5 separate regions of the Homo sapiens genome follow, and all the other regions are linked to region 5. Evidence: promoter capture Hi-C in 16 types of primary human blood cells and fetal thymus (Javierre and others, 2016). All regions are on one chromosome and are shown on one strand. The core of a region is centred on a gene start or on the middle of the fragment in contact, and the rest is flanking DNA. Distances in the headings are between cores, read along the strand shown. Region 1 overlaps RBM26 (RNA binding motif protein 26). Region 2 has its middle 92 kb from the start of RBM26. Region 3 overlaps RBM26 (RNA binding motif protein 26). Region 4 overlaps RBM26 (RNA binding motif protein 26). Region 5 holds the start of MYCBP2-AS2 (MYCBP2 antisense RNA 2).

Region 1 (5,151 bases), core at 2,494-4,993, 2.3 Mb after region 5:
GAATGATCTATATCTTGTCAGAGCTAGACTTTTCTTTACCCCTGCTATATACTGCTAGCATCCTGAAAATGTGTGAAAGAAAAAGCAGACCTGAAATTGCCTTATAGATCGGGGAAAAAAAGAATCAAGTTTTGAAAAGTATTTCTTAGCTCCCACAAACAACAAAATCTGCCAATAAAGTATGATTATGATCACCAAGTGCTCCAACTGCAATTACTCTTCTGTGTGTGTGTTGGGGCTGGTGAGGGAGCAGAATACAAACAAAAGCAAAAACTACAAAATAAGGCATGAGATCTAACTCAACAATAGCATTTGTAGAAGGCAAATAGAAGGTGAAAACTTAAGCACTTTAGTAAACGGTTAAGTTAAAGGAAATGAAAGTGTGAAATGGCTGGGGGGGAAACATAAATTATAAACATGCAATAAAACAGAAAACTGAGAACTAGACAGGAAAGAGTGCTGCTCTCCTATGCAGTAGAGTGTTAGTGCTTTCAGTTCTAGGTTCCACCTTTATAAATGCATAAACAAACTCAAACAGATTCTTAGAAAATGACCAAGATGGTAAATGGATATCATTATTAGATGGTTTTCTAGGGATTCTCAGCCTAGAGAACTGAAATGTCAGAGAGAACTTGGTAAGTCTTCAAATAATTGAAAAGTTATCACAAGGAAAAAGGATTACATTTGTCCAATATATCCTCCAAGGAATGTAACTAAAGCCAGTAAGCAGAAGCAGCCAAACAGGTTTTGGCTTAAAATAGAGATAGGCTTTTTTTTTTTAAAATAATCAGAGGCCTCCCAAAGGCAGAATAAACTGCCTGAGGGTTCTCCTTCATTAGAATGGTTTCAAGCATAGGCTGAACAGCTCTTGGCAAATAAGCACTGGACTGGATAGTAAATCCCACACAAGTATCAATGAGTAAAATCATTAGGTTTAAATCTGTTCATAAGATACTGTGCAAATATATGAAATATAAAATAACACATTAGTCTGTTCAATTACTGATCTACATATATTAGTAATAGAAAAGCATTTTTTAAAAATTACACTGTAGATAAAATACACACTACAAAAGATCTGAAACATATTAATAGTTACTAAGAGAGAGAATATACATACAAATATATGTCTCACTAGATCAATGGCTCATTTCTGTCAGGGAATCTTTCATCTTCATATAAAGTTTGATGAATAAAATAAGAAAATAAGTATGTTGGGTTTAGTGATTATCGTCCAAATATCGCATTCATTATTCAAGAAAATTTTAAAAGCACCTACTCTGTCACTGTTCTAGATCCTGAAAATACAACTTTTAGAAACATCACTGTTGCCACGGAATTTACATTGGGGGGTGGGGGGAACCAATATGCATATTACACAAACATACGTTTATAGTATGTATTGTCATGTAGACACGTGCTCTGAGGAAAAATCCAGGTTGAAAAGATAAAGTGTAAAGGAGGAGAAAGGAAGAAAGGTAAGGAGAAAGAAAACAGAAAAGATAAAACAAGTATTATTTAAGATCATCAAGGAAGGACTCTGTTGAAGGGACATTTAAACAGGGATCTGAATTTAGATAGGAATGGAAATGGAATGCAAATATGCTTTATGGCTATCCGGAAAAGAAAAAATTTTAAAAAGCCCAGGCCAAGGGAACCCATCAGAAAGAGCCTAAGGCCTACTTGACCTTCTTGACACATATGAGGGACAGGAGTCCAGTGAAATGGAGCAAAGTGAGCATTCACGAACACTGGGGTTTCCAATTTTAATTCTCCAAGGATTTCAAATTAACTGCTTCAGTGAGCTTTGGCAAATTAAATTTCCAAATCACTATGAAGTCATTCACATCAATGATTTTAAAGGCATAAAAATAAAACTTTGTCAATTCCTGAATATACTGTGTTAAGGATACAGCTAATAAAGTTTTTTTTTTTTTTTTCTTTTCATTTCATTTTTTTAGAGACAAAGTCTTGCTGTTACCCAGGCTGGAGGGCGGTGGTGCAATCATGGTTCATTGAAACCTTGAACTCCTGCCAAGAGATCCTCCCACCGCTGCCTCCCCAGTAGCTAGGACTACAGGTGCACACAACTACACCTGGCTAATTTTTGTTTGGGTGTACAAATAGGGTCTTGCTCTGTTGACCAGGCTGGTTTCGAACTCCTGGCCTCAAGTGATCCTTCTTCCTCGGCCTCCCAAAGTGTTGGGATTTACAGGTGAGAGCAATAGTGCCCAGCTGGCATCTTTGTTTTTAAAAACAGTTCAGTTGGAGACTTCCAGCTTCATGCATACCCTTTAAAAGCATAGAAGTGACCATCTAAGAAGGTCATTCTCTTCCAACTATATCTGGGGTGGAGAGGGAAGTACACACACTAAAGTTACAGAAGCCAAATTAATACAGAAAATCAAATGTTATAATAAAATATCTTTAAAAACTAAATATTCTTAACAAGAAACAAATCACCTCTGGAAATAAAGGTTGTACTAATCCCCCAACACACCCATAGTGTGTTTTAGTTTTTCAGATTTTCAAAACAGTAATGAGACCGTAAAGAAAGCTATAATACTCCAATACAATATTTCAAAAAGTTTGTTTTGCACGAGTTTCTTGGAGACTTTAGAAATTCAGTAGAATATAACTCACGGAATTTAACCCAAGCTTCCATGTTCAGTAATCTTGAAAAGAAGCTGGAGGTGGTAGTGGGAATTAAAAATTAAATTTAAATATGTTAACTGAGTAACTTTAGAACACGGATATGCACCCACGTCTGTTCTTTCCAAATTTTCATTTTATATTCAGGAAAAATATCTAATTTGCATCAAAGTCATGATTTTATATTCTGTACTTAGAATTACTCTTTTAAAAATCCAAATTTCATTGCAGCAAGCATAATACATACATTGAAAATTTTAATTGTAGTTTATTACATGCTTCACTTAATTCAAACAAGAAAGCAAAAATAGATTACTTATATACAGTAATTAGTTACAGCAAAGACTACTCATTAAGAGTTATTATACACCCAGTTCATTCTACAAAATAAAATCAAAATATAAGCATATCTAAATATGATCCATCCTTGAGCATCACACAATCTATTAATACTTCTTCATCACTGCAAAATGTATCACAATACATGTAATTATAACACTGAAAACTATTGGCCAGTTCTTTTATTCCCCCACATCATTCCAAGAAATAGCATGATTCCATCTTACTTTTAGAACAGTGGTTCTCAAACTTTTTGGTATCAGGAGCCCTCTATGCTTTAAAAATAGGAACCACTCCAAACAGCTTTTTATTTAAAAGAGTTATATCAATATTTATCAAGAATTAAAATTGAGAAAAAATTTAGTTTAGTTTGATATAATAAATCCATTAAAACTAGCATAAAAACTCTCTATATTTGTTTGAGTAATCAGAAGAAGAATTTATGTGCAAACAAACAGGAAGCCCATATGTGGGGCTGGCTTTTTTTCTGAATCCAGGAGTTCAAATCATATCACCAGGACTCTCTATTCTGCATTTTTCACTTTCAGAAATGCTCTCTATGTGTGGCAAAAATGATGGCCCCCAAGCAGTTCCCAGCTTACATTATTCTAACAGCTAGTGAAACCAGAAAAAGGAGGCTACTCTTCTCTCCCCCAGCATCCGTACTGGCCTCTGAAAATGACTCATCTTCCCCATTTAGGTCATATCCCCACTGCAGGTCAGGGATAGGCAGAGCTCTATGATAAATAGCCTCACCTGAAATTAAATACCATATTTTTAAAATTAAAAAAAAAAACACAAAAACTATTTTTCCAAAATAAAATACAAATTTTCTGAGAAGAGTGACCAAGTTTTACACTTTTTGCAAATACCTTTGTTTGGCTTAATAGAAGACAGGCCGATTCTTACATCTGTTTTTACATTCAGTCTGTTATGACATGTTATACTGGTTGAAGTACATGAAGAAAACCTGACCTGACACAGATACATAGTTGGAAAAACAAGGACCTCATAGACACCATGAAAGGCTCTCAGGAAATTCCAGGAATCCTGATATCACACTTGAGAACCATAGCTTTAGAAGTTACATAACTTCTAAATTAAATAAAAAAAAAAAAAGAAGTGCCCATTAAGTGTCAAAGACCCAATAGTCAGATAACAAAACCAAAGTAAAAGTTTGTACTGTTCAGTGCAAACAGCAGCAGCCCAAATGACAAATTAAGCCCAGATAGTTGTGGTTATAATTATGGTTATACATCAAGCCACAGAACTCTCTCTTTAAAAAAAAAAAAAAAAAAAAGGTGTATCTGCAATATGGTAACCCATGACTAACCTTCATATTTAGGGTTTTTTTTTTTTTAATTCCTATTCATAGTTGAGGAAGAATTGAGTTATCTGAGAAAAGACTGGTTCTAGAGGCCACCCCCACTCCATTACTCACATTCTGTCTAGTTAACAACAGATCTCAGGTAACCCATCCCTCTGGTTACTAAAATGAGAGAGCAGAGGCTAGTGAACATTTTCTTTTAAAACCAAAAAGGCAAAATTATCCAAAAGAAATAGCACTAAAACTAGAAATACAAAAAACCTAGTTCTATCATCCTGTTGGATAAATTTGGCTGAGTCGATTAAGCCTTTAACCTTTTTCTCATATTTCTTTAAAAGGTCTGGCTAATGCTGTGTGGTTATATATGTTAGAGATTCACTTCTAAGTCTTTCTCTAACATTGCTACCAAAATTTTCTGATACGGTTACCACAGTCATGCCAAAATTTATCTTTAAAAATGAGAAATTATTATGGACACTTTTCCGGTCATGAATCTTAAGACTAAGCAAACTAAGCTTCAGTTTTTTCATCTAACAGCTGACTTGCCAAACTAGAAATAATTACAAATAAATATAATTACAAATAAGACACACTTTATTAACCTGCCAAGCACCCTAACAATCGTTAAGGGATTACTAAATAATGAACTATGATAAAAAAAAATGCCTATAATCACCCCTAAAAATATACTTTAGTTAAATTCTGGTTGCTATATTTTAAGTCCTATATTACCTTTCAAACCTACTTTGTCCCAAGCCAAATTGTTAGCCTTTCCATGAAGCAGTCTGGTATTGAAGAAAAGCACTGAACTGTACTCCAAAAAACAATTTTCA
Region 2 (4,532 bases), core at 783-3,282, 2.2 Mb after region 5:
TTTACAACTCACCAAATGTTCCGTAAATATTTAAGAATCACTATGCCTCCTGTTGAGTGACAGACATGGGAATTTAAAGCAAAGCAGGATTACATATTTTAGTATTAGAAAAGTTTTTCATTTGAAATAAGGGAAAACAGCCATGCTGAATGAGTTTTTGGATTCTAGCCAAATTAACTGCCTTCCTCTTAACAAAACAATTTTCTTTTTGGGAAGCTGGGCACAAATAAGTGTAAGGGCATTCTGCATCATATTCTTAAATTATGATGTGTTTCTAATGGGCTGGGCTCTCTATCTGACTCAGCACAGACCACTTTTATAAGTATGCTGCTACATTATAATAAATCACAAGGAATCAGATTAAAACCTAGCAAAGTCTGAACAATGGGTTCAAAAATGATACTGAAAGGTTTTATAGCACCAATGACTTTTTCCTAAGACACTTGAGGGGCCTGTATCATTTTAAAGTATGATTTATCTTGTAAACAAGACCAAAAATATTCAGTTGATCTGTATTTTGAGCATAAATATTTATAAACTCTATTAAAAAAACAAATATAGCATGACTAGAGCAGCTTAATAGTGTAAAATCTAAGTATTGAAAAATATAGATATATAAAAGGCTTTCATTATGCAATCATGCAGAGGAAACTGCTTCATTCAATTACACAAAAGTGATTCTGTACAGTTATCTACAATAGCTCCATGAGAATCCTATTTAGGAAAATAAAATAATGAAAACCTTATCTCTAATCAACACGGGGATTTTAAATATGTAACTGACTAGATCTCAAAGCAATTTTAAAAAAGCGCAGTGATCTTAGTGAGAATCAAGTCATCTTGAATTCTGATTCTCAATGGTATCTTCAATTTTGTTTTGCTTTGTTTTTAATTTTAAAAGCAAAAAGTGAAAAATCAAACCAAACCAAACAAAAACTCCAGGATGACAAAGTTGCAGGTAGTGGCATGTAGTCCATATCCATTAAACAATCAACACTGTTAACACCAAGTTTAGTGTCTTCAGACAATGGTCTTTACCCTAGCAGTAAACCAGTGTAGTAGGGGCAGAAAATTCTTTGTTTACAATTAAAAATACTCAACTAATTTGGGGAAATATTTATGAACACCCTGTGGCTAGTTTGTAAATGTGAACCAAAAGTCTAACAACAACAACAAAAAAAGGCCTTGTAAACTACTAGGTCTTTAAAATATTAGAAGACTTTCCAAATTATGTATTTTTAACCAAGCCTAGAATTAACCATGCTGTATCCAACCAATGTGGATCAAAACAGTTAATTTACATTATGACTGATGTGTTTATTACATTCTTTTTACTCTTCATGACAAATGCAATGCATACTCAAGGGGAAAAAAAGTTTGCAGAATGTTAAGCTTTGCACCAAAAAAAAAAAAAAAAGTGATAAAGGTAGTATGGCTGGATAAAAATAAAACAAGGGTGAATAAAAATCAGTGTCAATTGGACTTTTCTAATATAGTTACTACCAAGTATAGCTTCCAACTTTTTAAATGCCTCCTGAGAATCTATGAAGGAATACTCAGAAACTAAGTGCAAACATTTCTTATAGTCCCATTATAAAAAAGATATTGTGGCTACATATTTAGGATGAGATTTAATCAGATTCTTTATAAGTAATTCTAAGCCATATTAAGTCATACTGCTTATAAATAATTTGGACATACACTTCTTAAAATGGTTAAAAACTAGTCTTTACCAATGTTAGGCACACAACACTATTTCCTCTTGCTTTAAAGGTCGTCTTCGATGTCTTGATTGAAAGTCAAAAAAATGTGAAAAAATTATGTTAAGACATATAATTTTTAAAATATTTATAATCCACAGATCATCATTTGTCACTTGGAAGAAAATTATTTTCTTTGTTGGTTTTGAAGGGCTAAGAATTTTTAAAAAAATATTTGGGTAAATGACCTTGGCAACATCAGAAAGTATATTCAGAAGAAATGCACAAGCTATTACAGTACATAAAAAAGTACTTTATCATCTATTCAAAATTATTTTCAGTGGCTATCCTACTCCCAGAAATATATCTTAAGATCCCCCCAAAATTAAAACCAAACTCATGTTTAACTTTTTAATTCATTTTCATTTTAAATTGCTCATGCTAATGAACACAGTAGTATGGCTTTACAGATTTCCTAGACACAATCCTCAATTTGGCTCAGACTTGAATATACGTCATCCAAGAGAACTTTTTCGTTCCTTCTTAAGGTGTTTAAAAAATAAATGGCTATAAAGTATGGGGAGAAAACATTTAAGAATAAGGTCAGAGCACACATTCAGATACACTTTGGACTCAGATGTACTCTTAGAGAACTGTAGAGATAAAATGCTAATTATAGTACATGTAAACATCTGTTCAAATTGATAAAGAGTGAACATAAAATAATAGGATGATATTATTGTAACAGTCGTCTCCAGACAGGAACTGGTCTTGCTCTTGCAGTCACAAAGCTAAATTCAGGCAATGATGATCTCTCTCTGCTGGAAAAAGAGAAGACTATTAAAAAAAACTTTGAAAATAGCAAATAAATCTAAAACTTGAATCACATCATAAATTGACCTCCAACTTTTCTAAACATTAAAAAAGTCTATTTGAGAAAGAAATCAAAATCAAAGTTGCAGGAAAATTACACAAAGCTTTGGGCTAAAATGATTTTACCAAAACCTCTCTGCATCATACTCCCTTCAAACATTAGGCTGCAAAAGATCACAGCATACAACATATCTATGGTCTAAAATTTTCATTGCGAAAACTACTTAACTGATATGGAAAATTTTCACAGAGATGTGGGTAGGCAAAGAAATTTTAGGAAATCATGAACAAATTCCAAGATGTTGTAAATAAAAATGAAAACAGATACAATCTTCTTAAGGTTTCCCAAAGATTTCAAAGTAATTGCAAGATACATCTAATTTCCTTAAACTCCATATGATAATCACTTCATTTGTTAATCACATTATATGAAGTAAAAGTATACTAAGCACAAAGGCCCACAGTAAAAATAAAAGGAATACATGGAAATCAGACAGTGCCTGGTATACAAGGAGAGGCTAACTTTGGATGATGGGAAATGAGTAGATGGATGAAATAAACAGTGAGGGAGGATTTAGGAAGTAGCAAGTATAAAAAGTGGATACGAAAAAAGTAGAATTTTAAAATGCTTTTAATTACATTAAGTAACAAGCACATAATATGGATAAACTGCAAGAAAGTTATACCAAATTAGGTGTTTTTCTACTAAGCAAGTTTGATGTTTTTCATTAGCAATTAATGGGAATGGCAGTCATGTTCACCAAAGTTTCTTTCCTAGGATTTTTAAGTAGCAACTTTGGAAGATTATCTATTGTCATCTGACAGGTATATAATGATCAGAAAGGAAAATTTTAAAAACTGCTCTTCCCTAAAGGCCTGTATACATACCTTTGAGCAACTAGCCAGTTCAAGAAGTTAACAGGAACAAGGTAGTTCCTGAGATCTGGGAAAAGGAAATTTTCTTCTTGTCTTACAAATATTGTACACTAGAAATTTAATTCTGCATTAAATTTCCATTTGTAATTTACAGTATTTTATAAGAACAAGAAAAGCCCCGAGAGAAAGACCAAAAAGTTAACTAAGCCAGAATTTCACGCAGGAAATTTTTGTTTTAAAAGGCTAATATAGACTTTTGTAAGTGGGGCAGGTGTGTGTGTGTGTGTGTGTGTGTGTGTGTGTGTGTGTGTTGGGTGGAGCTTACAAAATTTATATAAATTCTAGAAGAACTAAAACTAATTTTCTATCAGTCTACATTGTGTGTAAGGAGGGAAAAGAAAACATATTGATAAAGTTTGCTTCATACTCTAAAATAGCCAGTGATATTTCAACATGCCAAATAAGCAACTGTTGCTTCCTTTTTGAACCCTTATAAGCCAACAGTTAGTGTTCCAAGTAAGAGTGGATAAAGTCCCCCAAAATCAGTTCTAGTAAGAAGACATTTCTTTCAATTAAACTTAGCCACACTTTCTACAGGAAATCAGCTAAAACAGTGAAGTCCTGTCTTTAAACTATTAGTTGTCACATTTAATCAAATCACAATAAAACAAAAGCTATGGAATACTCTCCCATTCCTGCAACATGTTTTCATCAAATGCTTGGGTATCAGTTAAATATAAAATTTAATTTGATTATGTTACAATTATCCAGTAACATTTAAAACAACACTGCTTAAGTAGAGACACAAAATATTGGGTGAAATAAGTAAAACGACAACTCAACCATCCCTTGAAATAATCCTAATCAATCTTTTAACCAGTAATACACAACGTTCCTCAATTTTTTCCTGTAGGAAGAGGCGACCTACATTGCTGTCCTCAATCCTTTACCAACTCCCAACTCAGCCTGCAGCCCAGCTCTGTACTAAAGCAAAATAATCTGTTAGGAGAGCTGCAGAATTAAAAATGTGTTTCTAGTTTCAGGTAGCATATTGGTTTGTTTTTTTTTTAAAAAAGAGTAAAC
Region 3 (4,980 bases), core at 101-2,600, 2.3 Mb after region 5:
TCCTGGCTAACATGGTGAAACCCTGTCTCTACTAAAAATACAAAAAAAAAAAAAAAAAAAATTAACTGGGCGTGGTGGCAGGCACCTCTAGTCCCAGCTACTCGGGAGGCTGAGGCAGGAGAATGGCATGAAGCCAAGAGAGGCGGAGCTTGCAGTGAGCTGAGATCACACCACTGCACTCCAGCCTGGGCAACACAGCGAGACTCCGCCTCAAAAAAAAAAAAAAATTGTACCTCTGTGAGTTTGGGACTATAGGTTTCATTTTTGTTCTGATTCTTCTAAAACAGCAACTTAATTATTCCTATTCTGAACAGGATCTTGGGCTCCTACAAAGGTACAGTAACAATTCAGTGCAGAAAAGATAATATTCAAATCAGTCATGGAAGAGACGACTGCTTTACTCTTGTCTGAGTACTTATCCAACTTTAGTACTTTGGCATGGTGATAGACAAAAAAATAGAAAATAAGGTAATAGGAACCATCTTCTAGGTAACAAGGCAGAGTCAAACCATAAACCATCTTAACCTAAAGCTAACAGTGTTCTGCTTATACTGATGGTCTTTAAAATGCTTCAATATTTTTCCTGAGGAAAACTTCTCACTTTTCAGTTATATCTGAATGTCTCAATTACCTTATTTATTCTTGTACTTTCATCTTGAAATACTATGCATCTATTGATTATAGAAAATAAATTCATTCAGTCATCTAGGATAATGGTCCAGAAAACAAGAACAATGTAATGTTTGACAGTAAACATTGGCAAGGGCTGACAGTTTTTTCTTGGGAAGGCCTATCCTTTACTGCGAGTTCATGTTCTCCTACATTTTCAGTGTTAAAATTTCCTTTATTTTATATAACAATGGTGATAGAACATGACAATCTTTTTGTATTTTTAAAGTATTCTTCCCTGGCAAAATAAAAAGTTGATACCTCTATGACAAACACACAAATTTTTAAATTCCTAAACTTTACTGTTCCCTGAAATCCAAAAGTTTGAAGACCACTGCTCTATATGTATCCTGCTTGTATAAGATAAGCTTCAACTTAATTTTCTATTCTTTTCAACATTACAAAATTTTAAGAAACTTTCTGGCTTAAGGATATGCTTATGCTTTAACAACTTTTGTAACTAAAAATCTAAACATTTATCATAGCAGTGGTCATTACTCTTTTTAGTCTATTAAGTAAATCCAACTAAAGCTATTTCCTCTAAATAGGTAATTCTCATTAGACCTAACTTGGCCTTAGTTATTCTGTCACTTATTCAACCTTCATGTAATTCAGTGCTAAAGTCTTCCTTATACATTAATCCCTGGTATTTTTTATTGTTATTAATTTTGAAAAATACATTGTATACACGCCTAAGGTACAAAAAGCAAGACCCAAGAAAGAAGGTACGTGTCAAAAGTCTTTCCGCGAGCAAAATTTCCAAAAATTATTTAAGAAGAGGTTTTAATTTTTTCTCAGCCATATAAGCAAGCAAGGGAAGTAGTACATATTTAAAGTTCTTAATAAATCCACAAATTTGGCAATATCTGAACCATTTGTACAGTAACAACTATCATTATTTTATAATACCACTATTCCCTAGAAAATACATAAAACATAAAACTACCTATCTAGCAAGAGACTAAAAATTATCAACTGAAGCCACCACTGAAAGGAAGCTTACTCTAAACTTGCACTTAACAATACCCTGGAGAGAACATTTAATCAAAGATCTACCTTTTTCAATATAACATACACACATACAAGCTTATGAGTTTTAAAATCTCATCAATTTTAAATTACTTTTTACTTTCACAAAAGAACATTAAAGAAATGATTATTCAAAGCTAGCTTTAAAAAGAGAACACCCTAAGATCAGGAATTCCTATTTTATAAAATAATATACTACCCCCTACCTCTACCCCCAAAACTAGATTTTTTCAAGGCTCCAGTTGAATGACTTATCAGACCCATAGTCTTATGGTTACAATGCCCCAAGGGCAACTTCTACCAGGTAAGCAATGTACCACTGTGCTGGCAGAGAACATTCACTACAAAGAGGATAAATAAATGTAGAGGTTTTTTCAAAACTTATTTAAGTTGAAATCAACTTAAAACTTCTGAAAAGCATCTCACTCTTTCATTGCTTTCATTTGGAAAACTATTTCATCCCTGGAACAATGGCAAGGACAAAACAGTGACACTGTCTTCTCTACAATTCCTGAAGAAAGAACACACAGGGCAAAAAAGGCTCCTATGAATCCCCTACACCTCACTCCCATTTTCCTTTTTTTTTAATCTTTGAAACCCAAATGAAAGACAAGGTTGCAGATATTCCGGTCAGTCCTTGGAAAGACAATTCAAGATTGATAGTTTAAGGTAACTTTACTAAGAGTACCCTCAAAGTTAGAGGTATAGACCATGTCTTAGGCAAAAAGTCATAGAAGTCTAGTTGGGGCTATGCTGAACTAGGGACACTTCTTTTAGAGTTCAACCTGATGAGACCAGGAAGCAGTAGATGAGGAATGGCTAAGATGGGCAGACATTAGAACTGCTTGTACCTTATCCCTCACCACTCATTCTGCCAAAGCAGATCCTGTTTTGGGTCAGCTGAAAAAAAAGAATAATGGGTAGTGGAGTGGCCCTATCTACTATGAAAAAGAAAGAAAGGAGAATCCCTGGTATCTCACGACAGCACAATTTGACATTCCACTTGGTGACTAAATATGTATTTTAATTGTATTATGTTACACACAGAATTGCTTATAACTGCATTAGGACATTCTTTGAGGGCATGAATTCCACTTCAGGTGTTCTACCTATTGTCAAAGCATATTATTTAGTAAGTTAAAAAATTCATTTATATTAAAACTTAAAAGTAATACTTATAAATCATTTAAATCTGAATTGATAAATTATTTTTAAAACTTACTGCTTCAGCTTCTGCTCTTGTCTTGAATGTAATTACTGCATGAAGTGAGGAATCATCAATCTGACAATCTTCAATTTCACCATATTGCTTTAAATTAAAAAAAAAGTATTTCCTCCAAATAAATATTTTGAAATATCCAAAAATCCTAATGGTATTAAAAAACATTAAAATACTAATAAATATAACCCAGAATACATAACAATTCATAATGGTTAACAGAAAAGTATGGTGAGTAATTTATTTTAGTACTTGATAAGATAAAAGGTGGTCCTGTCTTCCAATCTTACATACAATTCACACTTCCCAGAATTAGTAAAACTTATACTCAATTGAACTATGCTTTAAATGAAGGAAATAATGGTCAAAGCCTGAGCGTTCTTGCTAACTAACTTTCCTCTTATACTCACTAAACCAATCCCAAGATAAACTCTTTCTTAAGCAACATACTGAATCCTCAGAATTTGTGAGTTTTTGGTATCATTCTCAATAAATGGGGAAAGAAAGAAAAAGAAAATTTAAGTAACTTCCCCAAAGTTAATTGTTAATTAATGGGAAGAGATTCCAGGTCTCTTGATTCAAAAGTTTAACACCCTAACTGACCATGGTTTTGCTTACTACACACTCTACTGTACTTTATAGTTGTTTAGAACATTTAAAAGCTAAACACATTATATTATTCCTGTTTTTGGTTTGTTGGATTTTTTTCCCTCATGTGTGGGAGGATTTTTCTACAAACAGCAACCTTTATCCCACAAAATTCTAGTCCTTTATATATCATTATCAATACCTTCCTAATTATCCCCCCCAAAAATTATAACTGTAATCTCATTAGCTCCACACATATCATAGAAATGTTCTGTAGAGCACAGTAAAGAGAATGTCCTAGAGCCACTAAGATTCTAGCTCTGCCAGTTATTAGCTGTGTAAACAAGTTACTTAACCTCATCATGCATCATTTTCTTCACCTCTAAAATGGGCGTAAATAAAGGTATCTACCTCACAGGGTTATCCAAATAATTCATAATGAATTATTGTAAGGCACTCAGAGGGCATACCTGCCACAAAGTAAGTGCTCTATAGGTTTTTAGTTATAATTTTTATTACTATTACTACTGGTACTGGAAGATACAGCATTTTTGTTAATCACAATTTGTAATAGTTAATGGTCCTTTAACATCACATATATTAAATAATGTAAATTTTTTTTCCTCTGACATCCATCATGTGTTCAAATCATAGGTTGAGAGAAAAGAAGCTAAACTTCAACTAAACCTGTGCTCATACTTAAGACTAATAATTTAAATGTGAACTTTGGAGTGAAATTTCAATGTCCAAATGCATGTCAGAATTTTCATTTAGAGGCTCTGAATACTTCTCAGCCAAAAGCACCTTAGTCTCACCAAAACATAAATCACAACAAACTCACTTTGTCTGTTTGGATTATTTTAGCACATTCATTGTTAGTTTCCTGATTAGCTGTAAAACTATACACAACATACAAATTATCTGGCTCTCCTTTCTCTTGTGGAAGGTGTGGAAGTGGGGTACACAGCAGGGAAAAGATGGGCAAGATTTATTTCCAAGCTCCTTTCTAGTTCTCTTAATTCCTTTCTTTATCCCTTTAAATCCACCAAGAACAGGACTTTAGACTCCTCATTCTTAAATACTAATCATTTTGGTTATTTCTTAAACATAAACCATTTCTGTCAATATCTCCTTATGTCCTGACAAAATATCTGTAACTGCTGCAAGCCTCCAATATGATTTTTAAACACCTAAGTCTGAATTTTCAAAAGGTTAAATCATTTATGTACCTACCTACTAGCTTACCTATTCTTTAAGATCTAAATTACAGTTTTACTACTTTATGAAACTTTCCTCTATTGTTCTTTTTTCCATCATATGCCAGCGTGATACTTCTCTAAGTTACTAAAGTATTTATAGTGCTTAATAAATTATAATTTGATTATAAATTATGTCTGTAGTTTATTCTGTGTTAAACTGATACATGTAAAAGCCTTGAGGATAAAGAACTGATTATTTCCTTCATATCTCCAGAG
Region 4 (4,912 bases), core at 1,026-3,525, 2.3 Mb after region 5:
GCACCTGCTAAATCAACAGGTGAAGTTTCTCTATAACATGCAATATTCTTTTAATTATACCACACAATTTTCCTTTTAAAAGTTCCATGGTATAGATGTTAATATATCATCATGCAGAGACCAAGATATATTTTTACATTGCAAAAACCACAAGAACAATAACATCCTGTATCATAAATCTGATATTTAAAGCTGATATGATAAAGAAGATTAAATATTCCACTGGTTACGCAGTTTGCCTTCTTAGAATTTAGAAGGGATTCAGCAAGATAATTTGAACGGTCTTAAGTCTGTTTTAAAAAACTAACCAGGACAGTATACACAGATGTAGCCCTTTATTCTTCATGAATTTCTTTAGTAAGCAGAGGCACTCAAACATAATTTATCAAATCTATTCACATAATAACTAAATACCTCTTGCAATATCTTCATATTTACCAGCAGCAATTACGTTTTAACTTTCCTCTCTTCTAGCCTCCTCACGAAAATGGGGTCTCAGGATAAAGAATAATCACTAAAGGTTTTACTGTGTGTTGTTGATAGGGAAGGTATAAAATGTTACATTTGTGTATTTATTTAGTTTAATAATGACATAGGATACTGTATAGATACAAGCTTTGGGTTTTCCCCTGCCTTCATTTTTTTTAAAAAAAGAATCTTTCAACTAATATTTGATGATGGGGAACATTCTTCTATTCTTTCTAAGACTTCTTTGAATCACTGCCCTGTAAGTATTTTGGACCCAAACCCCCTAAGGATTAGGGGAACAGAAACAACAAAAATAAGCAAAAATAAAATGTTTCTCTGTAAAGACACTCACTGAAGATGAATAAAAGTTACATACTTACTGTTTTCCTTAATAGGCTGTTTACGGTATTTATCAAAAATATTTTTCCCCATAAATAGCTTGCTACCATAAATGATTTTTTTCCCATAAAAATTCAGTTAGTAGTTTATTGCATTAGCATAATATATGGGTATATATATTAGTCTATGCATTAGTAAAGTTATATTATCAACTACAAATTTGTACTCACAATACACTGCAAAAATTTTATAAAAGCTATGAGTACACACTTCAATTTCAAAAGTCCAAATCTGACATTACAGACTCCAAATATAACTGAGCATTTTAGATGTCTCTAGAATTTCTCAGTAGTACACTAAGTACAGCTGAACTTAGTGTTAAATTTTATTTTACATTTAATTGACAGAACTGTACATATTTATGGGGTACAGTGTGATGTTTTGATACATATATACATTATGTAATAATCAAAATCTATCACCTCAAACACTTCCAGTGTTTCTTTTTTCTGAAATACTTATTTTCAACGAGGATAAACCTAATCCAAGTAAGTATTTGATACTGCTAAATTTAGTAGCACAGACTAAGCAGCACAGAAATTCCAAGGAGGAGGTGGGGATAACAGAAAAATCTGGAGGTTTCATGGGAGATGTTAGAGAGACTTTCACTCTTTAAATAATGACTGGAATTTAGTTGGGGCGGCGGGGGGGGAAATGCACTCCAGAAAAATCACCACCAAAAAAATAAAATAAAATAATAAAAGTCAGGAAAGGCCAAAGGAAAACGAGCAGAAAAGTACTCCCTTGGGTAAAAAGACTAGAGCAGAAGTAATAGAACCAGAATTATTGAGTTATCGATGAGCTGTGAATCAAGGAAAGTAATTTAGCTGAGAAACTCAAAGTTTCTATAATGAATTAACGCCAAAATAAGTCTGAGTGTAAGATGGTGACAGTATAAACTAGACGAGGGGAATTCCAGGATGCCAGTTAAGACACTGCACCCAGAGGCTAGGGAACTGAAGGTGGCAGAAAAAGAAGTGGTCTACAAACACAAGCAAATGATTGTAAGGCTTTTGGATCACACAGCTTAGAAAATGGTGTTATCACTTTCTGAGCTAAGGGCTAGGATAAATTAATTTATATAGGAAATAATGAATTCATTTTAGGCACATTATGCCCGAAGTAATGCTGAGATGCCCAAGAGCAAAGTCTGATACACAAACTCAGATTCAAATACCTAAAACTGCCAAAGTTTAACATTGTAAATAAAGAAAATAATATACTGAAGAATATAGTGAAGACAGCAGGGCAGCTATCTCACTGATGCATTATCTCTGAAATTGATTCCCAATCTTCAGACTGAAAAGAGCCATGGACTAAAAATAGGAGCCCCAAATTCTAGTTCTGGCTCAGTGACTCACAGTATACAGATGAAATCATAACACTGTTTGGGCCTTGACTTTAAGATAAGCATATAGAACTAAGAAAGATTATTTAATTCTCACATTCTGTGATTTCATATGCCTCAAATAAAATCAAAGACAAAGTATTTACTCATACCTAAACAAAAAAAAAAAATAACATCTACACAGAACTATAAGATATATCCATAAATGGTCTTGATTTAATAAATATTTACCCCCCTTCATTTAAAAAAAAAGAAATGACTATATGTATTGCTATGCTACCTCTATTACTGTTTAGTAATAAGTGAAAAACTTACATTTACATCATCCTTTCCAGTTTACAAAAATATTTGTAAATAAATGATTTTATTTGATCTTCAGAAAACCCCATGAGCAAGATAAATATTACCATCACCATTTTACCGATGAGTAAAAAGATTCAGAAAAATTAAGAACACTGCCCAACGTCATGCAGTTAGTAAGTGAAGAGCCAGGGCTCAAACTCAGGTGAAATTCCTAATCATGGCCCTTTCTATTAGGCTGCCAGAGTTGTCAAATCAAAATGCACAGTATCTCTAAAGAAAACAAAGTAAATAAAAAGAATAAAACAAAGAAAAGGAATGGAGTACATGGAAATATAGTGGGAGGCAAGTATTAAAATGCTGATGCAAAAGTAAAAAAAGGAAAATATTTTTCTTTTTCAGCAAATGGAAACCAAAAGGTAGGAAAAGATACAGATACTATTAAGAAGCAAGAGTTTAGAACTATGAAAAAAAATTAAAAATTAAGATGCCACCTGAAAACATTTATGAAGCCAAGACAAACACATCATGCTATTCTTCTTACCTTTTCAGTTGCTGAAACAGATGGCTTTGATACAAAACCCAACCTGTCCTTCACAGATAACTTAGTTACATTCTAAAAAAATTAAAATGGACATATTCAGTGTTTCCCCAAACATATAAAAGTCTGTTGGGATCTTGAACATTCTGATTCTACTAATATATACAGAGTCTATGAGTATACCAATACTAACCACAAAAACTTGGTCCTTCTTAAAAGAGACAGAAAGAAAATATGTGGGAAAACAAAAATAAACAGTATGCAATATTATTCAATCATGAAAAATGATGTAAACTAAGAGGTCTGAGCCACGTGGTTGCTAAAGTCCCTGCCACTGACACAGAATAAATTAGGAGAAAATCTCAAATTTTAAAAATTAAAATATATGCCCACTTACTGAGCTTAAAAATAGTGCCAACTTCTTCTAAAGTATGTTTATTTTATATCCAAATATACTGTATTTGGTGATAATTTGGGATGATAGGACTGGGAATTTTTTAAATTAACTAATAATTTACCAATAGACATTCTGCATGTCCTTGCAGAAATTCAGCATCTTACTCTTCAGGAATTATCTAGGAAGACTACTTTAATAAGGTGGCATCCACTAGCTAAGTAGGACACTACATCCTAACTCTATTTTACACAGCAAATGCTGAAACATCGGGAGACAAAGGAAAGCTAAGTTTCAGAGACTGAGAATGTAGAAACAAGAAACTGCCACTCAAGTGTTGAAGGAAGTGGGAAGGAAATGATATATGGAGAAAAGAATCCCAGAGTCAGGAATAAGTGATGCAAAGTTATGAGAGAGCAGTCTAAGTACTTAAAACAGTATAATATCAAGCATGCTTAACTTGATGGTTTAAGCCTTCCCTTACCATAAGCTTTTAGTTTAGTTCAGTCTACTACACAATTATCTCCGGAACAGAATTCTAATTAAGTAAAAAGATGATGGAAAAAATAAGATTTAATGTACTCAACTTCACTCTTCGGGCAGTTTTGCTGACATGTATCTCCTCCACAAAGTGAGAGAGAAATCTTTCTCATAAATATTAACTGGAGAGAGGAATTTAAGATTTAAATACTATAGGAAAAGTAGAGACTGAGAAAATGTTATGGTAATGGTAAAAATTAAAAAAAAAAAAACAACCTTATAGGTGGGGTTCAAATATGTAAAGACTATCATATTTCTATGTAAAATATATACAATTAACTATAATTCAAATCACCAAGGGAAACTAAATTACTGAGAACCTATTACGGGCACAATCGTAAGACCTTTGCTTTACCTGAGGAAGGTCTGAAGAGGCACTCTGGGCTTCTGCAGGTTCAATAGTACTTGAAGGTACTGGACCCAGCCGCTCTTTGACTGACTGCTTCACAACAGGCAAAATGGGCTGCTGGACTAAAGGCTGCATTACCTCAGAACAAGGAAAAAATGTTAAACAAGTTGATTCATTCAAAAGGATGGAAAGTGACCTGTGTTATTTTGTTACTACATTGCCCATGCAGAGAAAGTTTTTAAAATGCAGCTTATAGTCAAAACCTAACTGCCTTCTAATTTCATCCACACATATACAAAGATGTTTTCTTTGCATAAAATAACTTATTTACTGGAATAAATTAAAGTCCAACTTTCAATATCTTCTAACAATCAAAACCCATACTGTTGTAATATACCTCTATAAACACTCTAACATTACACACCGATGGGGGTTGGGACAAAAAGGAGGGAGAAAGGGGAGAGGGGAAAGAAGAGAGAATCTCTAAGATGAACCTACAGTCTAAATTTCTGGAATATACATAGCTGAGTACTCCTATCTGCCACGGACTATTCCATATGTCTCACATACACC
Region 5 (4,893 bases), core at 407-2,906:
GTAGGCTGATACAACTCAAATCAACAAATGCTGTGTACAAGGCTCTGTGGTAGGCAGGTTGAGGAACATGGAGGTACATAACTCAAGGAAAACATACATACAGGTTGAGTATCCTTTATTAGAAATATTTGGGACTAGAAGTGTTTTGGATTAGGGATTTTTTAGGATTTTGAAATACTCTATTTGCATTATCCTTACTGGCTGGGCACCCCAAATCTGAATATCTAAAACCAGAAATGCTCCAATATGCATTTCCTTTAAGTGTCATATCTGTGTTCAAAAAGTTTCAGATTCTGTAGCATTTTGGATTTTCAGATTTGGAATGCTCAACCTATAACATAGAGGAAGCCTGTTAAAAGGAAAGTAGATGTCAGCTTACATGTTGGGAATTTTGAAAATGAATACTGTTATGATTATTTCCTCTTAGAAAAGACAGAAGTGTTAAATTGATTGCAATCATTGTTCTGAGGGAGAGTATGTCCTTGCTTAAAATGTACCATGAGCCAAAGATAGCTTTGCACTGAACAGTGAGTTCTAGCTACAAAAATGTTTTGCTTTGTTACACTTGACTTTCCAGTAAGATAAAGTAGTTACACCAGTGGAAATTCTTAGGTCTGAGGAGGAAATAGCTCATATTATATTAGCTAAGCCTCTTTTACTTACTCAATACCAGGGAGGAATAGAACCTGCACTGATGTACAGGAGTTGGAGGTTGCTCTGATTGCAGACTGGCCTGCATCCAGGTTATCTGAGACCCAATCCTACCACTGTGGCTCTTCCTGAGAAAGGAAATATGCAAATGGCACAGGAGAAGCCAGGCAATGGTTCAAGGAGAGCCATTAATACTGTATCTGCTAGCAAGCCACATCCATTCTGAGGAAAAAAATTCTAAATGAGGTAGAAGAAAGGCAGTCTGGCAGTTAGTGCTATTTCTTTCTTGGTTGTTAATACTCAAGCAAATAGGACTCTTTTTTCTTGTTTAGTGCCTTTTATAAAAGAATATTTAATTCAGTTGAAACACATGGATGAACTAGGCTGAAGAGAATATAAATTATGATTATTTGGGACAGTCTGAAACTTATTTTTTATTTCATGAGGACTGTGGCAAAGTAGACACTTGAAGATAGGCTGGGTGCAGTGGCTCATGTCTGTAATCCTAGCACTTTGGGAGGCTGAGGTGGGCAGATCACTTGAGGCCAGGGGTTTGAGACCGGCCTGGACAACATGGTGAAACCCTGTCTCTACTAAAAATACAAAAATTAGCCAAGCATGGTGGCGTGTGCTTGTAATCCCAGCTACTCAGGAGGTTGAAGCAGGAGAATCGTTTGAACCTGGAGGCGAAGGTTGCAGTGAGCCAAGATTGTGCCACTGCACTCCAGCCTGGGTGACAGAGGGAGACTCCATCTCAGAAAAAAAAAAAAAAGCTGATTACACTATAGGTCAAAGATTATTATTAAGTGCCACCAGAGTAATACAAAAAGAATCAGCAGAGGGAAAGAGTAATTTTTTAGAGGAGTTACTTAGAATTTCTCTGCTGAGTTTGAGAGACCCTGGAAGAATTGATCAGCAGAGTTTAAGGGGAGGACTTCCAGGTCACGGGAAAATCTTAACCAAGGGAATGGCAGCAGAAAATTGTAGAGCAGACTTTCATTTTGCTTAGCTGTAGCCATGGTATATTTGTAATCAGACCTCTTTTCAGAAATGGAATTCCACAGTGCTCCCAATCATATTAATTTGTTTTTAGACTTAAGATTTATTTGGGGATTATAGCAATGATGTTTGGTTGGTGAAATTCCAGGTGATAAAGCTTGTTGCTAAATTCAGAAATGAAAGTGCATGAATACTAAGATCTGAAAAGAGCTAAAGAGCCGTAAATCACGTTTGCTTTCTTACCCCAAGATCTCGGGAATTGTCCACGTGAACAGACACATAGCGGGCATTGATTCCTTTTACACAGTTGATGGTGATGTTCTTAGTTTTGTTTTTATCTTCATCTCCTGATTCCCAAAAGGTTTCTGTGGAGCCGTCTGTCAAACTGCCAATCATGGCAGGTCGGCTTGAAGTTTTTATGTCAACAATGCTGGTTAAGTCCTTTAAGCACATTACTATGCATAATTCCTATCAGAAACAAATATAAGTACTTATGATACTTAAAAGCAAATCTTTCGTGATGATAAAACAAACAGGTATAAGATAAAACATAATGGAAGACAGGATCAAATTGATTATGAATAACTTACAGTTTCTCCTTTGATGTATTATTAACTAACAGGACAACCAGGATAATAACTGAAATGACTGACCTGACTCATAGCTTCAAAGCCAGACTGTATACTGATGCTAAAACTCTCTTCACTATCGCCATCATCTGACTTTGACAAAATATTGTTAATGTGATGAAAGACGTTGCTCTGATGAAGGAACTGGTGATCAGATTGCTTGAATTTGAGACTCCAGCACCTAAAAAGGCGATATATAAGCAATATACGAAATAATTATTTTCCAGGAACATCTAAGGAACTCTTAGATGAGTACTCTGTAGCTAATATCTCAAGAAATTTTAATGTTCTAGTAACAGACATTTTAAAAATTCAGGGAAGAAAATCATTCCTATTGTTTTTGTTTTTGAGAAATAAAGGTAACTTCTTTGGAACAAGGTAAATTCTAAGGAAAGTTGACCCATTTTAAATATAAAAGAATTAGACAGATGAAGATCAAGGCTACAGAAGCAAAAAGGGTAATGAATCTATTGTGTAAACAAGTGGTACACCAACTGCAACAACCCCTCAAATTTATTACTCTTACAATGCCATACTAATTCATCAGGGTATAGTTTATCTTGTAGTTCAAAAATCTTGTGAGGAGGACAAAGAGAAATCTCTCTTCCACTGGTCTTATCATTAGTAACATGGGAAGCCCAAGCATTCCATCAATCTATTTCTTGTATACATTAATTAGGAGAATTTATTTATAAGTGTGAGTCCAGTATGTGAATCTAGTAACAAGGTTCACAGTGTAAAAGCAATGCTAAATTCTCAACACATTTCAAATTGAAATTGGAATCTGTTGAGCATCTGTGATGCTCCTTAAGGTGCTTTTAGGACTGGGTGCATACAACCAGGCTCTGTTTTCCCCAAGATTCTTTTCAAGTCAAAACTCTATTTTGGTTTTTGTTTTTGAGATTTCATTTTCCCTCTCTCTTTTTGGGACATTTAAGTGATTTGAGGTAGGAGACTGGGGAAAGTGAGGGAGATTGCTACAGTGATAATTTAGGGCACTAAGAATTACATTAGCCACATTTTACAGGAGGGCAAACAAATGTTAACTAAGAGGAAGGACCATTCTAAAAATTATGACTGTAAGGAGGGAGGCACCATCTATATAATGTAGGGATTCTATCTTACTATTTAAAGAGCTTTTTTTGGAGCATTTCATACTTTGAATATTCCATAAACTCTCTTGTCCAATGTACCTAGGATATGTGGATACCAAAATTACCTCAGGGCCATTTGCTGTAATGAACTGCCGCTGGGGAGAGACATCATAAGGTCTGAGATGGTCTGCAGCAAGCGGTGAAAGGTGTGTGGTAAAGGATGAGCAGCTTCCCCGGCAATCACTATGTCTGAGAGTGGATGTTCACATACTCTTGTATCTTTCTCCTAAGGCAGAAATTGAAACAAGTTTATCAGTTTGTGTGCTGGAAGGAATCCTCTTCACAAAAGACTATTATGTATACTTAAAAAATGGTCATGTAACAGAAATACAAACAACAAAACCAAATTGTACCCAGAAAGATACAGTAATTTTAACTAATTATGCTTGTATTATTTTAGGGAAAAAAGCTGTAAGTTTAGTCACAAGCAAAATCAGCATGCAAATGAATAAATGTATCAATTCTAGTGTACTCACAAAGATACCTGTAGGGTGAATCCACATGTGTATGCATGTGTATGTGTAGTGTGTGTGCATATATATGTATGTGTATGGATATATACACATACATATATGTAGGTATGTTTTGTGTGTATGTTTATGTATAAAAAATAACATATGTTTAGAAGTTGGGGTGGTCACTAACTCATACAGCATTTTTATGTGAATTAGAAAAAAAAGCTCCTTTCTACGCAAATGGACCACAGCTAGGAAAGAGAAGTAGGGGTTGAATTTCATTTCTCATTACAACCCTCAGATGGCTCCATTAATAATATTAACTATGGAATAACTTTTTATTATTTTGAGTAGATAACACACATCATAATAAAATATTCAAGAGGTATAAAAAAATACCATAAAAAGTCTCCCTGTCTCTACAGCCCAGCCACCTAGATGCCCTCCCACTGGCAATTTCTATTACCAGTTTCTTGGACTGTCTATAAATATTGTTCATTTACACAAATGGCAGCACTGGAAACAAACTGATCTGTGTTCTTTTAACAATAATTTATCTTTGAGATTATTACTTATTAGATATGTATGTAACATATATTATCCCACTGCATAGTATTCTGATGAATAAAAATACCATAGTTTATTTCATCAGTCCACTTCAGAACAGTCATTTAGGTTGTTTCCAATCTTTTGTTTTTATATAACATTCTGCAATGAATCAACTTGTATATCTGTCTTTTCACACATGCATATATGATAAGGAGAACTTCATAAAAGTGGAATTACTGAATGATTTTTAATGTGAATTTTGATAGATCTTACCAAACCATTCTCTAAGAAGCTGCTACTCCACAGCAAAGAATGTTTGTTCTTCCATCTTGCTACCAATGTAAGCCCATCAAACTTTTTAAACTATGTCACTGAGCTAAGTAAAAGATGGTTGCTTTTTGCCTCCTTCTTTGTGCATATATTGATTACTGATATAGAAGTTCTGGTTTATATTAT

What was found. The method cuts DNA at HindIII sites, captures the fragments that hold promoters and counts their contacts. A CHiCAGO score of 5 or more calls a contact.
Region 1: a contact is called between a fragment that was not itself captured here and the fragment with the promoter of MYCBP2-AS2 in region 5, in 4 of 17 cell types (monocytes, total B cells, naive B cells and 1 more). The highest score is 10.7, in monocytes.
Region 2: a contact is called between a fragment that was not itself captured here and the fragment with the promoter of MYCBP2-AS2 in region 5, in 1 of 17 cell types (total B cells). The highest score is 5.0, in total B cells.
Region 3: a contact is called between a fragment that was not itself captured here and the fragment with the promoter of MYCBP2-AS2 in region 5, in 7 of 17 cell types (total B cells, naive B cells, monocytes and 4 more). The highest score is 22.3, in total B cells.
Region 4: a contact is called between a fragment that was not itself captured here and the fragment with the promoter of MYCBP2-AS2 in region 5, in 4 of 17 cell types (monocytes, naive B cells, total B cells and 1 more). The highest score is 11.2, in monocytes.

Annotation. Positions count from the first base shown.
Region 1 is chr13:79,382,321-79,387,471 of GRCh38, forward strand. All of the region lies in intron 1 of RBM26 (RNA binding motif protein 26), which reads right to left. Among named protein-coding and RNA genes, the nearest start is that of RBM26, 21 kb to the right of the region's middle. The HindIII fragment of the contact is 2,175 bases long and covers 2,657-4,831 here.
Region 2 is chr13:79,312,473-79,317,004 of GRCh38, forward strand. It overlaps a transcript of RBM26 not described here. Among named protein-coding and RNA genes, the nearest start is that of RBM26, 92 kb to the right of the region's middle. The HindIII fragment of the contact is 1,285 bases long and covers 1,391-2,675 here.
Region 3 is chr13:79,331,424-79,336,403 of GRCh38, forward strand. It overlaps RBM26 (RNA binding motif protein 26), which reads right to left. Exons shown (of 22, transcript NM_001366735.2): 20 at 2,921-3,007. Among named protein-coding and RNA genes, the nearest start is that of RBM26, 72 kb to the right of the region's middle. RefSeq lists an enhancer at 1-249. The HindIII fragment of the contact is 630 bases long and covers 1,036-1,665 here.
Region 4 is chr13:79,350,094-79,355,005 of GRCh38, forward strand. RBM26 (RNA binding motif protein 26) reads right to left here. Exons shown (of 22, transcript NM_001366735.2): 13 at 4,346-4,477; 14 at 3,060-3,131. Among named protein-coding and RNA genes, the nearest start is that of RBM26, 54 kb to the right of the region's middle. The HindIII fragment of the contact is 3,325 bases long and covers 614-3,938 here.
Region 5 is chr13:77,079,534-77,084,426 of GRCh38, forward strand. It overlaps MYCBP2-AS2 (MYCBP2 antisense RNA 2), which reads right to left and starts at 1,657. Exons shown (of 2, transcript NR_170173.1): 1 at 1,381-1,657; 2 at 978-1,128. It overlaps MYCBP2 (MYC binding protein 2), which reads right to left. Exons shown (of 83, transcript NM_015057.5): 63 at 3,499-3,659; 64 at 2,304-2,460; 65 at 1,894-2,118. MYCBP2-AS1 (MYCBP2 antisense RNA 1) reads left to right here. Exons shown (of 4, transcript NR_046716.1): 3 at 3,477-3,579. The HindIII fragment of the contact is 5,615 bases long and covers 1-1,805 here.